2 separate regions of the Homo sapiens genome follow, and region 1 is linked to region 2. Evidence: promoter capture Hi-C in human tissues and cell types (Jung and others, 2019). All regions are on one chromosome and are shown on one strand. Each heading gives the region's core, a stretch centred on a gene start or on the middle of the fragment in contact. The rest is flanking DNA. Distances are from core to core; before and after follow the strand shown.

What was found. Contacts are between HindIII fragments. The study calls those that stand out against the background at their distance.
Region 1: a contact is called between a fragment that was not itself captured here and the fragment with the promoter of ARHGDIB in region 2, in 1 of the 25 tissues and cell types used here (H1 embryonic stem cells).

Annotation. Positions count from the first base shown.
Region 1 is chr12:15,524,380-15,530,088 of GRCh38, reverse strand. PTPRO (protein tyrosine phosphatase receptor type O) reads right to left here. Exons shown (of 27, transcript NM_030667.3): 11 at 5,124-5,275; 12 at 3,827-3,947. Among named protein-coding and RNA genes, the nearest start is that of PTPRO, 200 kb to the right of the region's middle. RefSeq lists enhancers at 3,734-3,803, 3,332-4,531. The HindIII fragment of the contact is 4,719 bases long and covers 875-5,593 here.
Region 2 is chr12:14,959,899-14,964,937 of GRCh38, reverse strand. ARHGDIB (Rho GDP dissociation inhibitor beta) reads left to right here and starts at 3,337. Exons shown (of 6, transcript NM_001175.7): 1 at 3,337-3,401. RefSeq lists enhancers at 3,515-3,634, 4,885-4,994. The HindIII fragment of the contact is 9,154 bases long and covers 1-5,039 here.

The DNA of each region.
Region 1 (5,709 bases), core at 1,985-4,484, 570 kb before region 2:
TAATATAAGCATAGCTACATCTGCTTTTTTGCTTGTTTGTTTTCCAGTTGCATGGAATATCTTTTTCCACCCCTTCACTTTCAGTCCCTGTGTGTCTTTACAGGTGAAGTGGGTTTCTCAAAGGCAGCATATAGTTGGGTCTTATTTCTTTATCCATTCAGCCACACTGTGACTTTTAATTGAGAATTGAGACCATATACATCCAGTGTTATTATTGCTAAGTACGGATTTACTACTGCCGTTTTGTTGCCTGTTTTCAGATTGTTTTGAGAATCCTCTCTTCATATTTTGTGGTTAAGTGATTATTAAGTGTTATGTATTAATTTGTTGCTTTTTATTTTTAATGAACTGATTATATGATTTTGTGCTGTGGTTACCACAAGGCTTATAAAAAATCTTATAGATTTAACAAGTTTATTTATTTATTTGCTTATTTTTAAGATGGGGGTCTTGCTCTGTCATGCAGGCTGGAGTGCAGTGTTACAATCACAGCTCACAGCTCACTGCAGCCTCAATCTCCTGGGCTAAAGTGATCCTCCTGCCTCAGCCTCCCAAGTAGCTGGGACCACAGGCATGTGTCACCATACCCAGCTTTTCTTTTTTTCCTTTTTTTTTTTTTTTAGTAGAGATGAGGTCTTGAATTCCTGGGCTCAAGCGATTCACCAACCTTGACCTCCCAAAGTGCTGGATTACAGGCATGAGCCACCATGCCTGGCCATAACAAGTTACTTTAGAGAGATGACAACTTATCTTAGATCATGAGCAAAAGAATAGAAACAAAAGCAAAACTACCACACCTAAAAATTTAACTTCATCTCTCTCCACCACCCAATTTTGACTTTGTTGCCTCAATTTACATGCTTTACATTACCTATCTCTTAACAGGTTGCTGTAGCTATTATTATTTTTAAAAGATTTGTCTTTTGGGCTTTATACCAGAGTTATGGATGGATTGTACACCACAATCACAGTAACAGAATATCCTGGGTTGGTCCATGCATTTAATTTTCCCAAAGGTCTAATACCTTGAAAAGTTTTCTTTTCGCATGTGTCTTTTTCTCTCAGATTGAAGAACTCTCTTGCATTTCTTGTATGACAGGTCTGGTAGTGGTGAATTCTTTCATCTTTTGTTTTTCTGAGAAATACTTTATCTTTCCTTCATATTTGAAGGACAATTTTGCTGGATACATTATTCTTGGATGGCAGTTTTTTTTCTTTGAGCACTGTAAAAATGTTCTTCCTCATGGCCTGTACAGTTTGTTGCCAGGTGAATTGCAGCTTGTTTACCTGTTATTTGCTCCTTTTCTCTTGATGCTTTCAGGATCTTCTCTTTGTCCTTGACCTTTGAGAGTCTGAGTATTATACGCTTTGGGGTGATTTTATTTGAGTGGTATCTGTTTGGTATTCTCAGACCCTCATGAACCTGGCTATTTGTACCTGTCTCAAGTTTTGGAATGTTTTCTATTATTATTTCTTTCAGTAAACTTCCTTATTCAGCTCCCCCTTGAATACTAATAATTCTTATGTTTGATCTTTTAAGGTTTTTTTAATACCTTTTTTTTTTTTGACAGATTCTTGCTCTGTCACCCAGGCTGGTGTGCAGTGGTGCGATCTCGGCTCACTGCAAGCTCCACCTCCTGAGTTCACATCATTCTCCTGCCTCAGCCTCCCGAGTAGCTGGGACTACAGGCACCCGCCACCATGCTGGCTAATTTTTTTTTTTTTTTTGTATTTTTATTAGAGACAGGGTTTCACCATGTTAGCCAGGATGGTCTTGATCTCCTGACCTCGTGATCTGCCCGCCTTGGCCTCCCAAAGTGCTGGGATTACAGGTGTGAGCCACCGTGCCCAGCCTTTTTTTTTTAATATCTTATAGTCAGACTTCACTTACTTTCAGTCTTATTTTTCTTTTTTCTCCTCCAATGGTGTATTTTCAGATAGGCTTTTAGCTCCCTGAATCATTCCACTCCTTTGTCCATTCTGCTGTGATGTGTTTTTCAGTTCAGCAAACGTATTTTCCAGTACCAAGAATTTGTTTGATTTAAAAATTTCTCTGATAAATTTCTGAATTGCTTTTCTGTGTTTTCCTGGACATCACTGATTTTCCTTAAACTGTATTTTGAATTCTTGTTCAGAGAGCTCACAGATCACCATCTTGTTAGGGTCAGTCATTGGATTTTTGCTTTGTCCTTTTCCTGGGTAGCGTGGGCGGGTCACAGTTCCCTGTTTGATGTTGTTTCTTATGGGCATAGAACTATGTCTTTGCATTAAATAATTAACTATTTAGTCCACTTTCCTTTGTCTGCCTTGCCTTGTTTTGTCTTTTATTGGCTATGTTTGCCTAGCAAATATTTACCACTAGATCACTGCCTACATTTCAGCTCTAGGTGGCACCTTAAGTCCAGATTTGCCTTGGCTCTGCCTGTCCTGAAAAAGAAAGGTCTTAAAGGAATTATCCTGGCAGTGTGTCAAAGTTAGCTGGGGGGCTCATGCCCAAGGGACCTGTGAAATGTACCTCCTACAGTATGGTGCTGCTGAACAGCCACTCTGATTTGGTGTCTCCTTTGGCCAAGTTACAGAGCAGAGTTGCTGGGACTGGGAATGGTAGTTCCATCTCATCTCTTTGTTTCTGCCTATCCTCAAGCTATTTCTCCCTTCAGGCAGTCACGATGCTTCCTGTGGGTTAAGGCAAGGACAGATTTCCTGCCAGGGAGCCCAAGATAGTGGGGAAACTAGTTGACTACCTCAACCTCACTTTTTCCAGTGTAGAAACATGAGTTGGCAGAAGATTTTCTGCACACTTGTTGCCAGGCAGAATCGCGGGGGAGGCGTCACGAATGTGGAAGCCTGATTCTCCTACCATCTGCCCAGAGTATTTTCACTTCTCTATGGCTCTGGAATCGGTCGCATCCTCGTATTTGAGTTCTGGGTTGTTGCTGGTGAAAATCTCAGAGTGTATATTTGCTTTTGGTTTTCTGTTGGGTAGAGGGGAGTGAAGCCAGCTTGCTTCTATGCTGCCATTTATAAACTTTTGGTGTGTTGTCCCTACTTTAATTAAAATTATTTCCATCTTTCTCTCATTATATGAAAATATATCTCATCTTTTAGTACTTATTTTAACTCTAGTTTTTATTCTAGTATCTACCTGTATCTATGCTTGTTTAGTTATTTGTTATCAATTTATATTAACTTGTTCATTTCTTTGCTTATTTTTATACTTCTTATATGAAGGACTAATGATCTTTTTATTTCTTATAAACCCCAACTTATTCATTTTAATTATATCTAGGCATCAGGTAATTTCATTATGTCTTTTAGAGTAGTTGTGTCTGACCATATATTTAGGAAATCCATATTATTTTATTATAAATTAGTTTCTTTTTGTCTTGATTTTATTCTGGAGTTGGGAAACTATATAAAATTTAAAAAATCAATATGTAGATTTTTAAATCCATTACTATTTAAGATATTAAAGAGAGCATTACATAATATTAATATGAAAATAGAATGTTGTCTTATAGGGTTGTGAACACTGCATTAGATAATCTCTAATGTGCTTCCATCTCCAAAATCCTATGACTACCTGGTTTCTTTAACCTTACAAAGAACAGCGAACACCACTGTTTCCCAGAACAGTATACAACCCACTCACAGAAACTTGTACCAAGTTGAACATACCCTTTTGCTAGTACAAATGTCTATTTTCTACTCATAAAAAATTAGCCATTTTTCTGTTATTATTTCATTGAATTGAGGAGCTCTTGCTGAATCGAATGATGCAAACATTAGTGATTATTTCACACCCATCTCTGTGCACTCTTCTTACCTAGCTTGACAAGGCGGAGCATGGAGGTATTACTTCCTCTTTCAGTACAAGCAGTTACTGAGAGGTTATAGATGTCGCCTGGAGGCAAGCTGAGAATTGCAGTCATGACATTGCGTGTTACCTGCAAGATCATCAAAATCAAGGGTTTAAACTTTTAGTGAATGAATCAGTGCACCACCCCAAACAACTAAAGGACTATAGCAGACACATTCCCTCTCTGTTCTATGCAGCAGTCTGCAATTGATTATATTATAGATACGTTATATCTTCTGAAAATTTTATAAATTCCTCAGCTGGGCCCAATGTGAGGTAGCCTTAATAATGCATTATATACATCAGAAAAATTTTGCAATGAATTCCCTTATTTGGAATGGGTCTCATTCTGACATTTTCTCACATATTGATAACAGGTTTTAGAAAAGACAATTACTGAGTTGCTACTGATATGTACATTCTAAGACGTTCAAAAGAAACCTACCCATATCTGTAGACGTGTGGCTTCCTACCTAACAGCCATTGTTATTTCCCATCCTCTCCTACAGCTAGAGGGGATGATGTGACCCAGCTCTGATCAGTGGATTGTAAGTAGAAGTCACATGGACAAATGACAGTTCAGTTCACATCCTGTAAGTGCTGGGCTTCCACATCATCCCTTTTCTTTTCCCCTTCCTGCAGGCTGGAACATGCATGTAATGGTGATAAAGCTTCCTCTCTAGAGACAAGGACTATGCATAGTGGCAGATGGAACAACAAAACAGAATTTGCCTCCCTGGGTGACCCCTTAAAGCAGAAGTGCCTGGTTAGTCCTGTGCTATCATGGGAGAGGTATAAACTTCTATTTTGTTTGAGCCACTCTCTTTTTGTTTGTTTCTTTATTACAGTAGTTTAGTCTGTCCCCTTATCAATAAACATCCAAAAGCGTATTTTGGAGAAAAGAAATCAGTAGTCCCAAGGTCCCCAAATCTTTAGGTGTCGGTGATATATGGGAAAAAATGGGAAACACGTTAATTGTAGTTTTCTTGAAAATGTTTGGCATCCTGAAGAAAAAGCTCAAATCATAATTCTAAATATAAATGAAATCAATAGTTGGAGCTCTTACATCTCACTGTTAAAGATTAAACGGTAAGCTCTATGAAAGGAAGAATTCAATTTTTGTTCACTGTCTTATCTCCAGAGCCTAAAACAGACAACTGGTATGCAAACATTTGACGTGTCAATAAATGATTGCTTAGTGGTTTTCAATAGTTCATAAAACTAAATTTACAGACACACAATGCTGGCATTCAAAGAAACATACACTCTTTTTAATTTTCTTTTTTCCTTCTGCAACCACCATCCAGTGAAGCATTCTAGAATGGGACAAGTCCGTTGTATCATCCCCATATGTCCAACTGATATATAACAGACTGTTGAAATATTCCACAGAAGTGATTTCCGGAGCCACTGGGGCTACAAGGGAGAAACGAGGCACAATTTAGTATAATAGATGGATAAATAAAGTACTTACCAGCAGAGCATGAAATCCCATATAGAGTCAACTTAGCGAATTAGAATTCACAGCACACGATAGTCCCGGTAACTTCAGGACCTCTCAATAACAGTGAAGGATGGTGATACAGGATGGGCACTTGTTTAATGGGATCCCACATCTTGTATATCTAAGATACAAGACCCCCAGACCCATCTGTACCTGAGGATATCAAAGTCTTTTGGATAAATGTCACCATTACAAAATTCCTAAAAAGTTCACTTGTTTGGGTATATTTTTGTTACATCAACCAATTAATATTAATAGGTATCAGTGGAGTTATTAGCCAAGTAGGATTAAAAAACTTAGAGTCCTGCAAACTAAGTCTCTTTCATTTACTTGCAGCAAAGGTGTT
Region 2 (5,039 bases), core at 2,088-4,587:
GGTTGAATACCAGAATCACTGGAGGCTGTCTTGGAAGATGGCTACTACAATAAGCCAATTTGCAGATATAGGTGAAAATAGAATTCTATTTTATTTTAAGTGGATGAAAGATCCCTAGAGGTCTGAAAACGAAGGAAAGATGTGATTATGAGTATGCTTTTTAGTCTGTTATGAGAATAAAGGTTAAATCAGACTATTATGGAAATAGAAAACATATAAAGAGAATGCTATGAAAGTCCAGCAGAGGCACAATGATGGTAGGCTAGGGTGCTAAACAAGGAGGAGGTAAGAAGCTGTCAGCAGGTTATTCACCGAAAGTGGAGCTAACAGGATTGCCCCATGCTTGGCCAACTTCTCTTTCTCCATTCCTTCTGGGTGAATCCATCCACTTACATAGTTTAAACCAGTGTTTCTAAAACCTCAAAGTTTACCTGCAGAGCTTTTTAAAACATAGATTTCCAGGTCCAACCTCCGGGAGAGATTCTGATGTAGGAGGTTTGGCCTGAGACTTTGCATTTATTTCTAAGGAGTTCCTGGGTGATGGTAGTCTGCTGGTACACAGGCCACACTTTGGGTGTCCTGGTTTAAATTACTATCCATAGTCTGATGATATGTAAATTCAGGCTTATATATTTCACTATCTTTCAGAAATCATCTCCAACAAACGACACCATTTTTTTTCAAACTCAGGACTAGACACGTCCAAACGTATGTCCTTATTTCTCCTAATACATCTATTTCTTCTTTTGTATTCTCTATCTCACTTGGGGGTACCCCCAAGGACCCAATCATTCTAGCAAAAAAATCCAGAAGTCATTCCTGATTCCACAGTCCTCCTCATCCTCATCCTTCACATCCCACCAATTACCAGGGCATGCCAATTTCACCTAAATATTTCTCAAATCTGACCATTTCTGTCTATCTCATTATGAGTGTTCAAGCCTAAACAGTCTCCTAATAGATTTTATTCACATCAAATCCAACCACATCAGTTTGCCAGAGTAAACTAAGTGAAATGCAAAACAATCATGTCCATCCTTTACTTTCAACAGTTCCCCATCACTGATAGGATCTAGGCCGAGTTCGTTATTAACATGGCATAAGAGGTCCGTGGTGATCTGAACACTGTGCCTGCCCTGCTCTAGGTATATTTCTCATTCACATGTAACTTCCACTTTACATTCCAACAATCTTGAGCTGCTTGCTTATAATACCCTGCATATCCCACATCATTTTGGGAGGCCAGGGCCGTGTTGCTGCTCATGTTTCTCCTCTACCTCGAGTGCCTTCTCTTTCACTCCCAACCCTTCGCTCATCAACTACTCAAAACCTACTCTCCCTCTTAACTGAGCGCAGTGGTCACTTCCTCCAAAAAGCCTTCCTTGATGTCCTTACATGTACTCTCAAAACACACCATGTATTTTTTCTTTTCCTATGCTGACAAAAAAAAAATTAAATTTGTCTGCTTCTGTCTTCCCCATTACATCTTTTAGCTACTTGAGGTCTAGGACTGTGTCTTGTTTATTTCTGTACCTTTCCGTGGCTCCTTGCATATGACCAGGAATTAAGTATATTTTGATAATTGGAGTCCTTTTAGAACTTTCTAAAATTATGAATGCTCTCTCATCCCCCAATAAATACATTAATCTATAATACAAATCTGTAAAATATGTATTGATTTTACAGATTTTTCTGGGAAGGGGTGCTCCCATACCCTCCGATATACACTGGGCTCTGGAGGGAAAAAAAAAGCCAGGTTTGCCTAGTGAGGTGTTCCCTAATAACATGAGAAATGAGTGGTGGAATAGAGACCATGCATTTACCATTTTTCATTTTTAAATATTTCTTGTTACAATTAATGTATTCTGCCTGTGTTATTTTAATTGTCTCCTAGGTACAACATAAGTTCCACAGGGCAGCAGAGATGTCGCCTGCGGTCTATTGCTGCACAAGGGAACTAGAACAGTACTTGAAAGAAAAGAGGTGCTCGATAAATGTTATGGAATGAATAAATGTATCCCCTCTTGAGGGTGCAGAGCTATAGAATGTGTAAGTTACTGCCTTCTGTGTAAATTAGGGTTTGCTTTGTTTTTACAATAAAGTTATGTACATTGTTTCAAGGGCTGTATTCTGTCTATGCTATTTTAAAATTTATAGAATAAAGTGGTATTAGGCTTTTAGTATTTTTGCTCATTTTAATTATATACTATTTTCCTTTTCATATTTTTCTAGGCTAATCTCTTCTCACGTGAAATGACTCCCTTGATTATTCCGATTTCATTGACTCTAAGTAGAAGGCAAACCCTGTGGTATCAATTTACAAAGGGAAATGAAGAAGATGCAGTACATTTAGGTGAAAACAAAATAAACGTCAGTTTCTCCAAATTTGTGTGCTTAGTCAGATCTAAATATATTGATGTAGTGTAAATACTGAATATTGAAATATTAACCTAAATAAGCATTTATTATTGGTAACAGCTACGGGAATATACAGCATGAATGTGACTTGGCTGCTTAAAAACTGTTCCTCAGATGGTTTAAACATGGCCTCCGAGACTTGTTCCCATTTAAATTACTTCATAAACCATTTCCTCAAATATGGTACAAAGTCTATTTTGGCACTTGTTAAGTTGTCACAAATTCTGAGTTGGAAGACTATGAATTAATGAAGTTTTACTTCCTTTTGTAATTTCTTTCCTAGGTTTCATCAAAGACAGTACTTTCGCTTGCTTGTTTGTTTCATTTGAAGAAAAATCAGCCAAAACTATTAAAAACAATATTTGACTGTTTGTAGTGCAATACAAAGCTACGTCTTGAAATTATAACCAACAAAACTCCAAAAATCTGTTTAAGGACACATTTTTAAATTTAGGACCGTAGTATATGCAGTTAACAATCATCATTTCTTAGCACTCTACATTCACTGCCAGCAAACTTTCAACGTATCTGGTTGATAATGAAGCTGGCGGGGACCCAGTGGGAACAGAAGTGAGTGGTACAAAGTAAAGCCGATGTGAATTTATTGCTACTGGTTTCAGGCTCCTTACCTCCATAGGCTTATGCACTGCAATGACCTGATTATCAGAAATACCCTCACAATTATTCATAATACCCATAGCTATAGGCTCCACACTCTTGCGTGTACATTCATGCATCTCCACGTCACACGGGCTGTCATGCTCGCACATGTGCCATTAATTGACAAGAATGCTGCTCAAGTTGGCTGATCAAGAGATAGGCAGTGCAAAGGAACAGGATTTGAGACAGCCCAGGGTTTCCTCTTCAAGTAGGTCTAAAACATTTTTTTTTCTCATTGACTTCCTTCCTGTTCTAACTGCCAGTACTCAGAAGTCAGAGTTGAGAGACAGAGGCACCCCGGACAGAGACGTGAAGCACTGAATGTAAGTTCAAATACCTCGGGCTGGGGAGGCTTCAGGTGGGCACAGAGCAAAGTCGGAAACCTCTAGACGGGGCTACCGCCCTCGACAGTTTATTATTTTTTTAGAGGGGCAGTTCTTCTTTAAAACAAACTTTATGATAAGAAATTGCTAAGGAGGCTGCAGAGAAGGGGAAGTTAGAGGAGGGAAGGGTAGCAGTGACTCAGGGGAGGAGGCTTAAAAAAGGAGGGTACAGGGTGCGCTGCAGCCCAGGAAGTGCAATCCTGAATATTCTCAGAAGGGCTCTGAGAACACGCACCGGGAGTGCCTGGAGGGGTTTCCTGCAAAGTAGGAGCAGGCACCTGGCCAGGCTTGGAAGAAAAAGACTGTAGATCCAAAATGATACGGTCTGTGCTGGTGGATGGTGGGTTGTGCTGGGGTGGAGATATGTGGTTTCCTGTTTTTAAGCAGACAATGTAAAAAGACTGGTTGAAAGAGAAAAAAAAATGGTTCAAAGCTGTCAAATATTAAACTGTCTTCCACTAAATAATTTTCTGGTGATATAAGAGAAATGCATAATGAAATCCTCCCTTAGAGTGCAGGGGCTTTATCCCTCAAAGAGGAAGTATGGTATAGCACATTGTTATGTACTCATGAGTCATACAGTGATAGAATTTCTACCACTGACAAAGGCTGTGTATTAAATTCCTGCAGTCGGATGGGCAGATCTTTGCTGTTGTTGTCAAAAATAATAATAGGGCTGGGCGTGGTGGCTCACGCCTGCAATCCCAGCACTTTGGGAGGCCGAGGCGGGTAGATCACCTGAGGTCAGGAGTTCAAGACCGGCTTGACCAACATGGTGAAACCCCATCTCTACTGAAAATACAAAATTAGCTGGGTGTGGTGGTGCATCCCTGTAATCCCAGTTATTTGGGAGGCTGAGGCAGGAGAATCACTTGAACCCAGGAGGCAGGGGTTGCAGTGAGCCAAGATCACGCCATTGCACTCCAGCATGGGCAACAAGAGCGAAACTCTGGCTCAAAAAATAAAAATATTAATAATGATAATAGCCCTTTAGGTATGAGATAACTAACAGCAAACATGGAAAACACCAAATAACGTATTAAGAGACAGGTTTGAGAAAAATTCAAGGGGGCCCAGCTAGGACAGCTGATCAGTGGGCCTTCAAAATGTCAAGGTCTGAATTTCAGCCACCATTAGGAGAAGTGCTTTAGGTATGACCTGAAATACTTTCTTCCCTTTTAGAGGACTTCCCAGCCAGCATGTTTCATAAACATAATCTGTAATTAAACTCTAGACCTATGGTAACTTGAGGTGTGTGTCTGGCAAGCCCTGGGCAGTTCTTCATTCAGAGTGGGGAAAGGCAGACTGCTCTCACCCGGAGGGCTCATGGTCACCACTTCACATGGAGACCTAGAGCCCCTGGAGTCAGGGTTGGCCTGGCCATCTTCACTGCAGGGATGGTCAGGCACAGGAGATCAAGAGGACCATGGCACCTGTTGGTCCGGAGAGACAGGGGGCAGAGGTCCAGTCCCTAGCAGGCATCGTGAATCTTGCCATTGGCTTTGTGTTTTTTTAATTTGTAAGAATATATTCCCTCCCAAAGCAGATATAGCACAAGCTTAGTAACAAGAGCATCTT